Regions from separate parts of the Homo sapiens genome. Here all the other regions are linked to region 3. Evidence: promoter capture Hi-C in human tissues and cell types (Jung and others, 2019). All regions are on one chromosome and are shown on one strand. The core of a region is centred on a gene start or on the middle of the fragment in contact, and the rest is flanking DNA. Distances in the headings are between cores, read along the strand shown. Region 1 overlaps UBASH3A (ubiquitin associated and SH3 domain containing A). Region 2 overlaps UBASH3A (ubiquitin associated and SH3 domain containing A). Region 3 holds the start of TFF3 (trefoil factor 3).

What was found. The method cuts DNA at HindIII sites, captures the fragments that hold promoters and counts their contacts. A contact is called where the count stands out against the background at its distance.
Region 1: a fragment that was not itself captured here is called in contact with the fragment with the promoter of TFF3 in region 3 in 2 of the 25 tissues and cell types used here (heart right ventricle and lymphoblastoid cells).
Region 2: a contact is called between a fragment that was not itself captured here and the fragment with the promoter of TFF3 in region 3, in 9 of the 25 tissues and cell types used here (IMR-90 fibroblasts, bladder, dorsolateral prefrontal cortex and 6 more).

What each region holds. Positions count from the first base shown.
Region 1 is chr21:42,411,290-42,414,565 of GRCh38, forward strand. It overlaps UBASH3A (ubiquitin associated and SH3 domain containing A), which reads left to right. Exons shown (of 15, transcript NM_018961.4): 4 at 1,735-1,933; 5 at 2,121-2,234. Among named protein-coding and RNA genes, the nearest start is that of UBASH3A, 9.0 kb to the left of the region's middle. The HindIII fragment of the contact is 6,450 bases long and covers 1-3,276 here.
Region 2 is chr21:42,428,233-42,431,692 of GRCh38, forward strand. The region is part of intron 8 of UBASH3A (ubiquitin associated and SH3 domain containing A); the gene reads left to right. Among named protein-coding and RNA genes, the nearest start is that of UBASH3A, 26 kb to the left of the region's middle. The HindIII fragment of the contact is 9,602 bases long and covers 1-3,460 here.
Region 3 is chr21:42,314,032-42,317,135 of GRCh38, forward strand. TFF3 (trefoil factor 3) reads right to left here and starts at 1,378. Exons shown (of 3, transcript NM_003226.4): 1 at 1,262-1,378. The coding sequence starts at 1,343. RefSeq lists enhancers at 2,478-3,097, 3,098-3,104. The HindIII fragment of the contact is 18,141 bases long and covers 1-3,104 here.

The sequences.
Region 1 (3,276 bases), core at 7-2,506, 97 kb after region 3:
AACAGATACACACAGATATACACACACAGGAATACACAGATACATGCACATAGACACACACAGACACACACAGAGACACACATTAGATAGACACACATGCACAAACACAGACATGCACATACATGCACATACATAGACAAATGCACACATACAGACACACACATAAGCACCACATGCACACATATGCACACAGATACACACATGCATACACACAGACACACATATAGACATACGCAGACACACAGACACACATAGACATACGCATATGCAGACACACACACAGACACACACACATATAGACATATGCAGACACAAACACACTCACACACCTCCCTCTGTCGTTAGCTCCTCCCAGTCCCCCACCCCAGTTCTGGCCTGGCCGTGGTTAGTGGAGCTCCCCTCACAGGCAGAAGAGTGTAACGGAGACTCACTGTGTACCTTGATGCTGTAAAATGAAAACACTAATCTTCCGAAGTGTGATATTGATCACAGCTACACTTATAACATGACTATTCTTGAAAATTACATATCTGAGGCCAAGAAACACAATGTGAGACGGATTCAGGAATGGACATGTGTTCACTGGGTGGTTTTGTGTTGAGTGCCGTTGAGGGTTGCAGAGAAAACAGACAGGGAGGAATGTCAGGCCGGCCTGTCCATGGGGAGACGGAAGCTGCATTAAACACTGTGATCTGGCCTCATACTTGGGCTTGTAAGAAGCACTGTGGGAAATTCCGAGGGCAGCCCGGTGCTGGGAAGAGAAGGGATCAGGCCAACTCCCGCCAGGAGGGTGTGGTGTCTGGGTTTCCCCTGTGGTCCGATGTGGCCAATGGCACTGGGAAGGTTTTCAAGCCCAGGAAGCAGCCTCCCCAGGGCGGTAGGCAACACCGAGCCCAGATGTCAGGAGAGGCTGCGTCTGGCTGGAGGATGGGGGTGGGAGCCCCGTGGGCAAGGCTGTCGGGCCAGCACCTGTCGGGCTCCGTGGGCCTGAGGGATTCTCCAGGTGACAGAGAGCCTGCGGCCTCAGGGGTGGGAGCTGCATCAGAAAGAGGGTCCTGCAGCCACTCAGGGGGCATCAGGGAGGCCGGGCCAGGGGCTGTGCAGGCTCAGGTCCTCCAGGGAGCAGACCCCAAGGCAGAATTCCCAGTGCAGGAGACGCACAGGGGAGAGACTGCTGGTGAAGGCAAAAGAGGAGGAGAGGGTTGGAGGCAGGCAGAGCCTCAGTGCCTTAGAGGAGTCCCTGTGGAACCCGACTCAGTGCTCAGCCGTGGAAGAGAGGGTGGCCCCGCAGCTGGAAGTGCAGCTGAGTCCCGCTCACTACAGGCTCTGAGCAGTGCCTGGGCAGCCTTGGAGTCTGCTAGAAACCTCCAGAAGCCAAATCATGCAAACCTGAGCAAAGCAGTGTGCCATGGGACTGAGGAAAGGGCCTGGCAGGTGATGAGCACGTGCCATGGAGGGAGGGGATGCAGTTCAACGACCAGGGGATTTCCAACCTGGGCACCTAAAGGAGACTCCAACCTGCAAAGAAACTTACCTGAAATATTTGAAAAAACCGAGGTCCAGGTATAGAACAAATCCATAACCCCAGACACAAAGGGACGCAATAAATTATGTTACAGCGCTTTGAACAGAAAAGAATCTCACTTTAATTGCTGCCTGATTGTTATTAATTAAATTAATAGATGACTTCTGATGAGAGGTGTGGAAACACAGGCTCTGTCTCTGTCCCCTTAGTGTGAAGACCAGAAGGTGGAATGCCTGTACGAGGCGCTGAAGAGAGCTGGAGACAGGCTCCTGGGCTCCTTCCCCACGGCCGTGCCTCTGGCTCTCCACTCCTCCATCAGCTACCTCGGCTTCTTCGTCAGTGGCAGCCCCGCAGACGTCATCCGGGAATTCGCCATGACCTTCGCCACGGAAGCATCTCTCTTAGCAGGTGGGCAGCCCTGGCCAGTTGCAAACACAGGGCTGGATTCACAGTGAGTGAGCCCTCTGTGGCAGGGACTAGCCCCCGGCACATGGATGCAGTGGGTGGGTTCCAGGGGAGCAGAGCCCAGCAGCAATGGTGGGATGGCTGGGTGGGCTTTCTTCCGGGCTCAGTGGCTGCACCTGTCCTCACCCAGGCACTTCCGTTTCCCGCTTCTGGATTTTCAGCCAGGTGCCTGGACATGGCCCTAACCTGAGGCTGAGCAATTTAACTAGAGCCTCCTTCGTGAGCCACTACATCCTTCAAAAATGTAAGCCATTAGAAAGCTTCCGGACCAGCTTTGGTCTTCTCTTTAGGCGGGAATAGCCTTGTTCTCATTATGTGGTTTTTAAAATGCTTAGCTATATGCCAACAGCCTGGGAAAGTGCCCCAGAAGGGTGTGCCAAGCATCAAGCCTGAGTGGGTGACTGTGACGGGGTTGGAGGCTGGTGCACACAGGGAGTCAGGGCCTCCCCACCCCAGCCTTGAGTGGGAGACACACAAGTCCTACGTGACTTATTTCTGTATTTTCAGTATGAGCTTAGTGCTCTCTCCTTGGCCTCTCCAGGGAAAGATTATTTAGACTCATATTCAGAATCATCAAAATTCCCTTCTCTCCAAACACCAGCCCTGGCCTGGAGACCAAGGCTACCATTGGGGTTTAGTGGAAAGGATTGTGGACTTGACGTCAGAAGATGTGATTTTTTTCTGTGTCCCTGATGAGTGGCATGACCTTAATCAAGTCATGTCCACTCTCTCTGTCTCTTTTTCTTTCTCTACAAAACAATGAGGGCTCTCACTCTTCAAGAACAATGTTGCCTGAGTCTGTGGCCCATCCTGCCATAGTTCCCGGGACACAGAAGGCACTCAGTATTGCTGAGATTTGCCGACTCTAAAATCTGACGAGGCCGCAGTGCCTTGGTGGGAGGGCTCCCCACTTTCTCTCTCTGGGAGCGTGTCTGTCTGTGCTCAGACATGTATGAAGCACAGATCCTGGCCTGTAAATCCATCCCTGAATCCTGGGCTTCCACTTGGATGGCAGCTTGTGAGTCTGGAGATCGAATCTGCTGAATAATTAGAAAGTCGCCCCCGGTCTTTGTGGATTAGTATCCTTTATCAAATGATGGCTCTTTCACACCCAGGCCCTCCCCCAGTGAACCTCATTGGCAGCATCTTAAAAACAGGAAGACTGAGGCTGCAAAGGGTGAAGGGCCTGCCCAAGGTCCTGTGGTGTGTAGAGCGGTGTCCCCTAAAAATGTTTGTCCACCAGGAACTTGGGAATGTGACCTCACTTGGGAATAGGGCCTGTGCAG
Region 2 (3,460 bases), core at 452-2,951, 110 kb after region 3:
GTCAACCCACACGCAGCGTCCCTGTCGCCATTTGCACCTCCTGGCAGCTGGTGCAAATCAGCCCAAAGCTAAGTGGCCTTGGCAGGTCTTTGCAGCCTTGGTGGCTAGGTGAGGAGGCCTTTTCTTGAGAAATCAAGAATGTGTCTCTGAAGCTGGGTCCATGAGAAATGGCGATCAGCGTTCACCATGTGAGAAAGGCCCAGACTTGGGAGAGCCGAGACTCCCCAGGGCTGTGGCCTGGGGATTATTTAAAAAGCTTTAAATGTTTTTAATAAGGACTTTCAGCTATTTAAAAAGATTGAGCTAGTACCATGGATTCCAACAACCCTATCATCTGGAGTAAAACAGAGACCATTCTGTTTTACTCAGCCTAGTGACTTAAATGTTAATCTCATTTTTAAAAAATACCTTCACAGTGACATCTAAAATAACATTTGACCCAATACCTGGGTACTGTGGAGAAGTACCCAGGTATTGGGTAGGGGGAGAGCCTGGAATGGAAGTCTCTGCTCGTAGCTCAGCCTGTGTCTAAACCGTGCTTTCAATGGCTGAAAACAGAACATGCATCTGCCTGTGAACTGGCCCCCCTCACACGGTCTTCTCTATAGGGATTTCACCCCTTCCCTACAGTAAGAAAAGACAACTGGCCACAGGTCTGGTAGAATCATGGCCCCAGAGATGATGCCCTAATCCCGGGAACTTGTGCATGTGACCTTATTAGGAAAGAGAGTTTCTGCAGATGGGATTGAGTGGAGGGTCTTGAAATGAGGAAATGATCCTGGGTCATCCAGGAGGGCCCTAAACCCCATCACAAGTGTGCTGATGAGAGAAAAGCAGAGGGGATCTGATACAGCAGCAGAGGAGGCCATGCAGCCAGAGAGGCAGAGACTGGAGCAATGTGGCCACAAGCCAAGGAACACCTGGGGCCACCAGGAGCTGGAAGAAGCAAAGAATAAATTCTCCCCTAGAATGTCAGAGGGAGCATGGCCCTGCCAACACCTTGACTTTGGACTTCCAGCCTCCAGAGCTGTGAGAGAATAAATGTCTCTTGCTTGGCACCGCCCAGCCTGTTATGGCAGCCCCAGGACACCAATGCAGCACCTTCTGTCTAGAGAATTGGTGCAGCCCTGCCTCATTCCATAGATCCCAGGGGTCAGTCCATTCCACTCCCCACAGGGCTTTCTTTTGCTTTATCATCATATTCCTGTGGCAAAGCTCCACAGAAGAACATTTAAAATGCTCTGAGCTCTTCCAGGAAGAAAATACCCCAAATCCAAAACTTCAGCCCGCAAGTTGAAAACTTCAGGGACTTTGTTACTAGGCAGAATGAGTTTCCAAGAGCATGCATGCTTTGCAATCTACTTGCAGATCAGCTCTCTACAGCTCTCTAGGATGTTTTAATATTCATTCTGGGATAGGGGCGGTGGGTGCTGCCTCTTGGTGTCAGTGTAGGCAACCTCTGCATAACCACACTTCACATGCAAGAGAGCAAGACAGCAAGACAAACCTTCCCCTGAAGCTGTTCCCCAGGAGATGCATGTTTCTATCCTGAAACAAACAACTGAAGTTTTCCAATAAGGGAAAGCAATACTATTCACTTGGCCTTACCGTATATCCGTTTTGAAGACTCAGCCCAGTGACCCTAAGAAAGTGTTTGCATGGTGACTGCAAACGTTCTCACTGGCTCACCAATCCCATAGTTTATGCACCTACCAAATGTAGCCAGGGCCACCGAGAACTGTCTGGTCCTGATAAATTTCAGCAGCTGGAAATTCTGCATCGTCCGGGCCAGCGTGGACTTCACAAGGGATCCACAGGATCTGGCAGGAGCTGCCCGTGGTGCTGACCCCGAGAATGCTTTCAAGGCAGGTGAAATTGGCCCCCACCCTACTTTCTGGTGTCCCTTCCTTCCCAGTAGTTTCCAATCACTTCCCTAGGTACAGGGACACCACGGGGGACCACTCTTGCCAGAGCGAGTGGCCAGTTAGTGCAGACCCTTGAGACTGGATCACTGTTCACAGAAGAAAGTCCAGACAGGAATGATCAGCTGCACTGGCCAGGTGGAAAATGAGTCCCTTCCTCCCTGAGGGTGTTTGGATGTTAAAGCCATTTGCATTTTCCTCTCTAGGATTTGGAGGGAATCAGGGCGATGCTGGGGCTGGTGTATGAGGGTTTATGCAGACAAGGCTTACCTCTCCTCACCTCTCTTCCTTACCCTGCTCAGTAGGAAAACACACACAAGAGCTGCCCTCTCATTTTAGCCCAGAGAGAGCTGTGTGGCCAAGAGGGAGCAGGGCAGGGATAGTGCCTGTCTGAGCTGCCTCCTGCCCAGGGGTCCTCCCTACCCCGTCCATCCCTGGTCGCCTGGGCTCCAGGCAGGATTTGGTCCCCAGAAGGCCCCACAGCCCACCTCCCGTGGCAGGCCGTGTTCGCTCTGCCCCCACCATCTCTGTTAATGACTCATCTTTCCATGTTCATCCCTTGGCCCAGGGAGACCTGCAGCTCCCTAAAGCAGGGATGCTGTGGACTGCAGCTTCATGGACCAGCATGTGACATGCTCCCCCCTGCGGTGCCATGTCACAGGGAGGTTGAGGCATGAGTCCTGGGTGCCAGAGGGCAGCACCACTGGGCCTGTGTTGCTGCAGGGTTCCCCACCTCTTGCTCTGAAATGGACCCCCCTGGATAGCCTGGGCCTGGCTCTGGGGCTGGGAATGTAGGTGAAGGGCCGATGTCAGCTGGCACATTAGTGCCCTCCAGGGAAGCAGCCGAGCCTGGTGTCTCCCTCCAGGGTCCTGGTGCAGGGCTTATGCTCCACGCAGCTGTCCTGGTGGCCTCTAGCTGGCTCGGCCCCTAGCACTCTGCTCTCTGGTCCCAGGGGGGGCATCCTCAGCTCTCATTCACTCTCTTCATCTCATTTGCTGTGGGTTCCTCTCAAGGCCAGTCCCTCAACTTGATCAGCCCTGCACAGCATGGGGAGAAGGGTGGCCTAGCCCCTGAGGACAGAGCCCCCCACAACACCATCCCACACAGTGGAGGCCCCTCCCAAAGGGTAGCCAGCCTCGCTGCCCCAAGCATGACCTTTGGGCTACTTCCCCAAAGCACAGGCTCCCCAGAAAGAGGGCGGGCGTGAGCCCTGTAACTGCAAGGCTCCAAGGCCATCCTGCGGCTGCCTGAGGCTGGGGAGGAAGGTGCCAGAGAGCTGCTGTCCCTGGCTCGAAGCTGCTGGCCACCGCCAAGGCCAGTCTCATGCCGAGAAGAAGTAAATAAACTATAAAGTACTGTTTTCCTTTAGCATTCAGCCAAACAGAGAATGACCAGCTATGGGAAAACAGCAAGGGGATGGATGAGGGCTTCTCCCCTTGGTGCTCAGAAGCAGAATTCATACCTGGGAGCCATAAAAGGACGGCCCCTCAACAGGTCAACACCAGGGCAGTCCTGGAGGGTTTCTCAGAAGAAGTGT
Region 3 (3,104 bases), core at 128-2,627:
AGGAGAGGCACACGCCATAGAGATCATTGCAACGCATGCTGCCTGCTTTTCACTTTTTTCTGCATCTCCCCTTCCTGAATTGTTGAGCATGTCCCACCCTCCCGGGACATCCTTCAGTCCCCAATATTTTCATGTTTCAGGCAAGCCTCTATGTCTGTATGTGCAGCAGAAGTTCACTGCGTTTCATTAACGAACTGAGTATTTCCTTAGGAAAATGGCAATCACGTGCAGTGTCTTACATTCCCTTCTCTTGCTCCCAGTCCGTAATTGCTTATCCTCCTGGCATCCAAACTTCGCTCACACTGGAATCAGCTGCAGAGCTTTAAAAATGACTGACGTTGGCTGGGCATGGTGGCTTACACCTGTAATTCCAGCACTTTGGGAGGCCAAGGCAGGAGGATCACTTGAGGCCAGGAGTTTGAGACCAGCTTGGCCAACATAGCGAAACTCCATCTCTACTAAAAATCCAAAAAATTAGCTGGGCATGGTGGTGCATGCCTGTAATCCCAGCTACTTGAAGCCGAGGCACAAGAATTGCTTGAACCCAGGAGGCGGAGGTTGCAGTGAGCTGAGATTGTGCCACTGCACTCCAGCAGTGAGTGACAAAGCAAGGCTATCTCAAAACAAAACAGCTGAGGCCTGGATCTTGCCTGGAGATGCCCTGATGTAACTGGTGTGCCCCAAGCATTAGGATTTTTAAAGCTCTCCAGGTGATTCTAATGGGCTGCAAGTTCGGGAACCACTGCCTTTGACCCTGCTCAGAAGACACCCAGATAAAAGCCATGCCCTCATTCCTTCAAACTTGGGTTAATGGAGCAGCCACACCCCATGGCAGGGTTGCTATGCAATGGCTAAATGAACCTTGTGCCTGCCGGTATTGACAGTGTTCTGAAGTCAGGGTTTTTCTCCTGCATCTTTCCTTTTTCTTTGTAAATGTGGAACAATGCATAAAGACCTATATTGTAATTTAGAAATCTCCAGCAAAGATGGCTATGGGGTCATAGGGGATGGGCTCAGGCTCAAACCCTGATTTCAACACAGACTGGGCAGGGCTGCCTTGGATAAGTTGTTAACTTTCTCTGAGCCTCGGTTTCCTTGTCTGTGAAATGGGGACAATAAAGACCCACTTCAAAGGGCTAGCGCAGGAAAAAGTGTATATGTGACAGGTGGCCATTATTAAATGAATGCAGAATCCCCCCTTATCCTGGATCCCTTCCCTTCACGCCCACCCTGCCACCGGGGCAGTCAGGGCAGTACTCACACAGGCCCACGTACTCCTCAGCAGAGCTGGAGGACAGCAAGGCCAGGACCAGCCCCAGCATGCAGAGCGCTCTGGCAGCCATGACCACCGTGGGCTCCGGGACGCAGCTCAGGACTCGCTTCATGGTCCAGGAGGCCTCATTTATGCACCGTTGTTTGCACAGCTGCTCTGGATTGTTTGCTTGGGGAAGGCTCTCCCTCCTGGCTGTGGCTGCTCCTGTTCTCTCCTGCATGCCTTTGTCAAGCTCCCAGACAGTTTTTCTCTCCCAAAGGGGAGAGGTCAGTTCAGCCCCCACTGTTTTGGCAGCAAGCGGTAAGGGCGGATTCCAGTTCTGGTTCCGGGTCCTCTACTGGGGAGCGGATGTGTGTCAATTGCCCTCCTAGCCTGGCCTGGTGTAGTGTGCAGGAGCCATGTGGGGTGGCAGGACCAGGGTGTGGTGTCCGTTCCATCTCAGCCTCCCAGCCAGAAGCCCTCAGAACACCCCTGGTCCCATGACAAGAGAGCCCCAGGCTGCTTCATCCCAGATCGGCCTCGGAGACAGGCAGCTCTGAGTGAGTCAGGACCCTGCGGCTCTCTCACAACTCCTGAAACACAGAGATTCCTTGTCTTTCCTTTTTGCTTTCTCCCCTAAAAATTAGTAACTACATTTTAATAAGTGGATGAAATGAATTGATTGAAAATATGTTAGTAAAAACATGGTACACATAATTGATTTTTAAAATCAAATAATACAAAAGAGCCTTTCCTATCCAGAGGCATCTATTGATCTATTGTGAACACTTTTTTAGGTATCCTTTCAGAATTTTTCTCTCTGGATCTAAGCACGTTTTTTTGGTTTGTTTTTGTTTGTTTGTTTGTTTTGTTTTTTTTTTGTTTTTTTTTTGTTTTTTTTTTTTGGAGACAGGGTCTTGCTCTGTTACCCAGGCTGGAGTGCAGTGGCACAATCTCAACTCACTGAGACCCCCGCCCTCGCGGGGCTCAAGTGATCCTCCCACCTCAGCCTCCTAAGTAGCTGGGCCACAGGCATGTGTCCAGCTAATATTTTGTATTTTTTTAGAGACCAGGTGTCGCCATGTTGGCCAGGCTGGTCTCAGACTCCTGGACTCAAGTGATCTGCCTTCCTTGGCCTCCCAAAGTGTCAGGATTACAGGCATGAGCCACTGCACTCGGCCACATTTTTAACACAAACAGGAACTGACTCTCCACCTTTGCCCAGCGTGCTCTTTTAAAAACTAAAGACTACATCTCAGGAATTGTTTTATAACAACATATCAGATGAGACAGCGATGATTCTATCCATTTTCCAGAGGAAGAAACTAAGACTCAACATTTCCGGTGCCTATCAGAGGTTACTCCAGTGTCCCTGGTATAGCTGGTATTTAACCCACTCCCAGGACCCTAAGCCTCCGCCCTCGGCATCCGCAGCATCCCCCAACCCCCCAACCTCCTGCAGTGGACTGGCTGGTAGTGGGCAAGAGACTAATCTCATTCCAGGAAAACGGGCCCCTAGATTTTGTGTTCTCCGTGTTTCTTTTCCAGGGAGGCATTTTGATGACCCCCACTGGCCCTTCCAGGAGCCTCTGTCTGAAGGGTGGACTTGGTTTATCACCCCGAGAAATGGGAGCGCCTGGCTGCTTGGATTTAGCCTGCAGCTGGGGTCCCCGGTGGTGTGTGCAGGGCGGCCTTGAGCCTCCAAGGGTGCATCCACAAACTGCCCTTCCCCGAGTGACCCATGGGAGCTCGATGGCGTACGTGCTGAGCACCAGGATGTGTCCTGCCCTGTGACTCCCAGGCCCCGCCCTTGCGCTCAGCACGCCCTTTGTGGATGGATTTGAGGGCCCCT